Linked DNA regions of Homo sapiens: region 1 is linked to region 2. Evidence: promoter capture Hi-C in 16 types of primary human blood cells and fetal thymus (Javierre and others, 2016). All regions are on one chromosome and are shown on one strand. The core of a region is centred on a gene start or on the middle of the fragment in contact, and the rest is flanking DNA. Distances in the headings are between cores, read along the strand shown. Region 1 has its middle 63 kb from the start of LINC00524. Region 2 holds the start of MIR381HG (MIR381 host gene).

Region 1 (2,932 bases), core at 100-2,599, 300 kb after region 2:
TTGCCCTCCCACACTAAACAACCAAACAACCAGACAAAACAACTATAAAAAAAAAAAAGACAATGATTTTTGGACACAGAACAACAGGCCACACAGAGCAGAGATCCTTTAAAGAAGGGAAACAAATGGGCAAGCCTTACCACGGTCCTCACTTACCACCTAGAAATCCTTTCCAGGCTACGTTCCAGGGAAAGCTGACCCAAACAGAGCCTGCTGTTCCCTCAAAGGAGGAGACAGAGCTGAGAACCCAGGGAGGCCCAGGCAGCTAGAATTGTAGGGCAGAGTTCAACGAGGCTTCCCCTGGAGACTTCCATGGAGTACTGATGGATGTATGCCTGCAAGACAACTACCAAGGCCAGGAAACTCCCACCAGAAAGGAACAGGCAGAAAAATGTGTGAGTCTCAGTGGGCCAGGAACAGATTGTGTTCTCACCAGTCCAAGTAGAGAAACTTTGTAATACCCAAGGCATCAGGTAGAGTACTCAGAAGGCTATTGCCACAAGAGCAAAGTAAAATCATCCCTACACCAATGGCCATCCTGGTTTCCCCTGACAACGCTTTAAAGTAAACCTCAAAAAGGATCAGGCTGTTTCCAAGTAACACAATGGCTTCCAAGGATAACACTCAAGAACATGTAAAGGAATATAAAGTTATCCGGCACCTACAAAATAAAATGTACAATGCTGGCATCCAATGGAAAAGAATGCAAAGTAATAGAAAAATATGACCCAGAATCAGGAATATCAATCAATAGAAACAGACCCAGAAATGACACAGATGATAGAGTTAGTGGACAAAGATGTTAAAAAGTTATCATATTTTGTATGTAGAGTTAGTCGACAAAGATGTTAAAAAGTTATATTTTGTATGTAAAGAAGGTAGAGGAGAACATAAGAATATTGAAAAAGAGGCATTGGAAGTTGTAGAAAAGAAGACACAAATTGAATTGATAGAGTTTTTTTTAAAGCTTAGGATGAAGTGTAGATTACACTATAGAAAAAAAAATGTAGTGTACCTGAAGACACAGAAATGCAAGCCACACAAAATAAAATAAAGAAAGTAAAAAGATGGGGGAAGGGGAGACTGACCAGAGAATTAGCATTGCTGGGACAAATTCAAATGTCCCAATCTACATGTAATTGGAGTCCCTGAAGGAGAGGCAGATGGGAAAAAATTGAAGAAATTATGATTGAAATGTTTCCAAATTCTATAAAAACTATAAACCCACAGATACAAGAAGTTTGAAGAACCTCAACCACTGTACATCATAGTAAAATTGCCCAAAAGCAGTGATATAGAGAAAACTTTAAAAGCATTCAGCATAAGGGAGGGAGAAATGCTTTATGTACAGAAGAACAAATGTAAGAATGAGAGCCAAATTCTTATCAGAAACAAAGTATGCCAAAAGATAATACAGCAACATCTGAAAGTGAAAACAACTGTCCATCTAGAATTATTTACCCACCAAGAAAAATTATCTTTCAAAAATAAAGGCAAAAAGGAAGACCTTTTCAGATACACAAAAGCTGAAGAAGTCCATTGCCAGCAGACCTTCACTTGCAAGAAATGGTCAAGTAAGCCCTTTGAGCAGAAGACAAATGTTAACAGATAGAAATCTAGATGTATGCAAAGAAACGAAGAGCACCAGCAATGGTCCATATTGAATAAATATAAAAGGCATTTTCTCTTATTTAAAAAAAAATCTCTTTAAAAGATAATTGACTATTTCAAGTAAGCTTAATAATGAGGCTTAAAGTATATGAAGAAATGAAAGGCATAACAGCAATAGCACAAAGGCTGGAAAGGGAGAAACAGGAGTACAGCTTGGTAAGATGGTTGTGCTGTATGGGAGGTAGTCTAATATTACTCAAAGACAGACTGTTATAAATTTAAGATTTATACTGAAAGTCCTAAAGCAACCTCTATTTAAAAAATATATGTAGCAAAAGGCTGGGCATGGTGACTTACGCTTGTCATCCTAGCATTTTGGGAGGCCAGGGCAGGAGGATTACTTGAGCTCAGGAGCTCGAGACCAGCCTGGGAAAAATAGTGAGACCTCATCTCTTTAAAAAAAAAAAAAAGGATCAAATTGATAAACCACTCTCCAGACAGATCTGGAAAAAGAAAGAGAAAAAAGCAAATTGCCAATATCAGAAATAAGAGAGAAAAAGGATATCACTGAAAATACTGCAGACAATAAAATGACTATGAGAGAATATTATGAGCAACTTTCTATAAATAAACTCAATAATTTCAATAAAATGGAAAAAGTCCTTGAAAGACATGAACTGCCAGATCTCACTCAAGAACAGGTTATCCAAATAGCCCAGCTTCATATCTATTAAAGAAATGTAATTTGCTGTTTAAAATCTTCTCACAGAGAAAATCCCAGGGCCACTTGGCTTAACTAGAGAATTCCACCAAGCATTTAGGAAAGAAACAAAATCAAGTTTACACAAATTCTTTCAATAACCTAAAGAAGAGGAACATTTTACAACTTATTCCATGGGGAAGTATTACTCTGATACCAAAATGAGAAGACAGTATTACAAAAAAACTACAGAGTAATATATATTATGAACACAGATGCAAATATTCTTAAAGAAATCGGAGTATATTGAATCAAACAATATGCAAAAAGAATAATATGCCATGACCAAGTGGAGTTATAAAGCAATGCAAAATTGACTTAACATTTGAAAATCAAATAATGTAATTCACCATATTGGCAAATATAGGAGAAAACCATATAGGGTCATCTCAATAAATGCAGGAGATTCATCTGTCAAGATCTAATATCTCATCCTTATAACTACTCTCAGCAAATTTATATTAGAGGGCATTTCCTCAACCTGATAAAGGGCATCAACAAAAATATCTACAAATTAACATCACATCTAATTTTGAAAGACTGGATGCCTTCCTCCCTAAG
Region 2 (2,949 bases), core at 388-2,887:
GGTTGTTCTAAGGCAAGTTACTGGTGGAGCTCCCTGAGCCTGCCTGTGCCCTCTGGGACTGTCGCTGGACTCCAATGGCCAGTCCTCGGAGCACATTGTCCAGTGATTGCACCTGAGTGTGCCTTGGGCAGGTGTGTCTGGTCTTCAGGACTCCTTTGTCGCTAGAGTCTGACGCTGGGGCCCTCTTTTTGTTTGTTTCGAGGTAGGTACAGGTGACACATTCTTGGATCTGGTCATCTCTAGGACAACCAGCCTCAGAGGAGAGACATTGTCTCAGCGCTCTCCAGCTCTGAGAATGCCTGCAGATGCCTTCTTCTCTGATAACTCCATGTCTTGCCGGGCTGAGCCCTCACACCCTGTGCCCCTTTGGAGAAAGGTGATGGTTCCATTGTCCATGTAGCTTGTGGGTATTTGAAGCAGGTTCACCCATGCATGCTGAGCACACTGATAGTCATGCCTACCTGTTCCCTTGTTTAGAAGCCAGTCTCGCCTGCAGGGAGTCCTGGATGTGCCACCTTTCGGGGCCAGGCCACAATGTGCAAGGTGCAGGCCCAGCTCCAGGGTCAGCCAGATGAGGCTTGTCACCGGGCCCCTCCCCCTTGGTCTCAGGCCTCGCAGGAGGAGATGTCCACTCCGGCAAAGACCCGGCATGGTCCTCACCTGCTCTTTGAGCCACCCTTTGGTACTTAAAGAGAGGATACCCTTTGTATGTTCACTTGATTAATGGCGAATATACAGGGGGAGACTCTCATTTGCGTATCAAACTGTCGGAGAAGACACTCATACCCTGCTTGTCTCCAGGACAAAGCCTCGGATGTCAGCCCCTCTCAGGTATGGCCTGGCTTCCATGTCCGGGAACGTGAGGTTGGCTGTGACGCTGCCCCTGGGTTCTGCCTTCGCCCTCTATGCTGGTTCTTCCTGTGGACTCCCTGGAAGCAGTGGGAGAGGAGGGACCTTTTTGTGTGCTCCAAGTTTAATGGTGGTTTGCTTTTTTAAGGATAAATCACACATTGATCTGCCTCTTCTTGGTACCAAGTCATACACAGAAGGCTTCCTGTTCCCAGCATCAGCCTTAGAAGGGGGACCTGGATGTTGGATCATTTCAAGGGGAACACAGACAGCAGTGATGGTGGACCACGGAGCACTGGCTCTGTCTATGCTGTTTTCGAGCCTGGTAGGCCAGCCCCAGGAGGGCTTCCTGGAGGTGGTATTGACCTTGGGGAAGGGGCTGAGGTGTGCTCATCAGCGCTTTTTTTTTTTGATGCTTGGGTGTTCATGATCCAGCTCGCAGTCCCCAGGCTGAATCTGTAAGAATGGTTTGCTTCTATTTGTCATTTGTGATTGCCCATGAAGGCAGCGCTGGGGATGAGCCGTGGGAGCTGTCAGCCCCGCACCAGGTGCGTGCATGTGGGAGGTCAGAGGGCGCCTGCTTCTGCCTCGATGTCTGTGCCCCGTCTCTGACTGCTGGCTTTCTGCTCACACCTAGGATGGCTGCCTGAGAATGGGACTCTTGTTCTGTGTTTGTGGAGACACTCCTTGGGCCGTGTGACTGCCGGCTTTTTACACCCCGACTGCCATGGGGGTCATCTGGACCCGAAGCCAGCTTCAGGAAGGACATTCGCAGCATCCTCAGCCCAAGGAAAGCGAACGTCCAGCTGAAGAGAGGTGAGCACCACGCCTGGGTAATGAGTCACATAACCTGCCACCTGGACCAGGCGGCTCCCGCTCCTCTCCCCTTCTTGAAGGAGAGACCACTGTGGGGAATGGGCTGTGGGTCTGCTTCCTCAGTTACTTGGGGGTACGTGGGGTTTACTACTGTTGACCCTGTGCTCTTTCTTAGCATGGCTTCATGGCCACGATGCCAGCCTCTGGCAGGGGTGGGGCAAGGGCTGGCATGGAGAATGACACTGGTGTCAACGGCTCTGTGAGATGGATGAAGGGATGGTGACCACAGGGCCTTTGCTTTGTCTAAGGTGTAAATTCATCCAGTGCCTGGGACCTCGGTGCTGAGTGCATCCTTAGGAAAACTTCCTGGAGAGGTGCCCACACTGGGAAGGAGATGGTGGTCCCACCCCAGGGAATTCCTATAGAAAGTGAGAAGCTGAGCTCTGCGTGTGCCCAGGAAGGCCCGTGGGGTGGATCTCCTTTTCAGGAACAAGTTCTAATCTGGAGTGATGCCTGGAAAAGAGGCTGATTCTGGTGAAGGGGCACTGGCGTCTGCCCCTTCCTGGCCCCTTTGGGATGGAGAGCTGACCTATGGGCACACAGCTGGCAGGTGGTGTTTGCCACCTGGTCTGCTGATCCCGCATCTCCCACCCCCTCCCCCGCCAGGATGAACCCCGGGAGAGGAGGCCGGCCCCGTGAATGATAGTGAGGAACCTGCCCAGTGCTATTGTTTGGTACTTAAAGCGAGGTTGCCCTTTGTATATTCGGTTTATTGACATGGAATATACAAGGGCAAGCTCTCTGTGAGTATCAAACCTTGTCTTGGACCCAGTCCACACTCAGCAAGGGATGCGGTATGTGTGTGCATGACCGTGTGTATCCGTTTTGTGTGTGGCAAATCGTTCACGGGTCCCCACTTCACAGAGAGGACTTCACGGGCACCTGGATGACTTTAGGGAAGGCAGTGGCCTCTGGGACATCCCCTCTCCTGGTGCAGTGTGGGCGGGGCCAAAAGCATGCACGATGTGTGTGGTCTGGGTCCCTGCTTCCTGAGCGGGAAGTCATCAGCCCGGGCCGATGGCTGGGGTGGCGCTCGTGTGGGGTAGTGGCTTTGTGGTCCCTGCTGTTACTCGGTCCGTGAGTGTGCATGTTCTGCTTGGGGTATGTGACCCGGTCCACTAACCCTCAGCATCTAATTCATCCCCAGGACCGCGCCTTGAAGACGTACCAAGTCCACCCAAGGCAGTGGCTTTCTTTTCCGTGCTAACCTTTGGTACTTGGAGA

What was found. The method cuts DNA at HindIII sites, captures the fragments that hold promoters and counts their contacts. A CHiCAGO score of 5 or more calls a contact.
Region 1: a fragment that was not itself captured here is called in contact with the fragment with the promoter of MIR381HG in region 2 in 1 of 17 cell types (endothelial precursors); the score reaches 5.6 in endothelial precursors.

What each region holds. Positions count from the first base shown.
Region 1 is chr14:101,343,343-101,346,274 of GRCh38, forward strand. No RefSeq gene overlaps it. Among named protein-coding and RNA genes, the nearest start is that of LINC00524, 63 kb to the right of the region's middle. The HindIII fragment of the contact is 769 bases long and covers 966-1,734 here.
Region 2 is chr14:101,043,520-101,046,468 of GRCh38, forward strand. MIR381HG (MIR381 host gene) reads left to right here and starts at 1,638. Exons shown (of 3, transcript NR_104192.1): 1 at 1,638-1,665. It overlaps MIR1185-2 (microRNA 1185-2), which reads left to right and starts at 679; the gene lies at 679-764. MIR381 (microRNA 381) reads left to right here and starts at 2,401; the gene lies at 2,401-2,475. MIR487B (microRNA 487b) reads left to right here and starts at 2,936; the gene lies at 2,936-2,949. RefSeq lists enhancers at 2,246-2,746, 2,747-2,949. The HindIII fragment of the contact is 10,476 bases long and covers 1-2,949 here.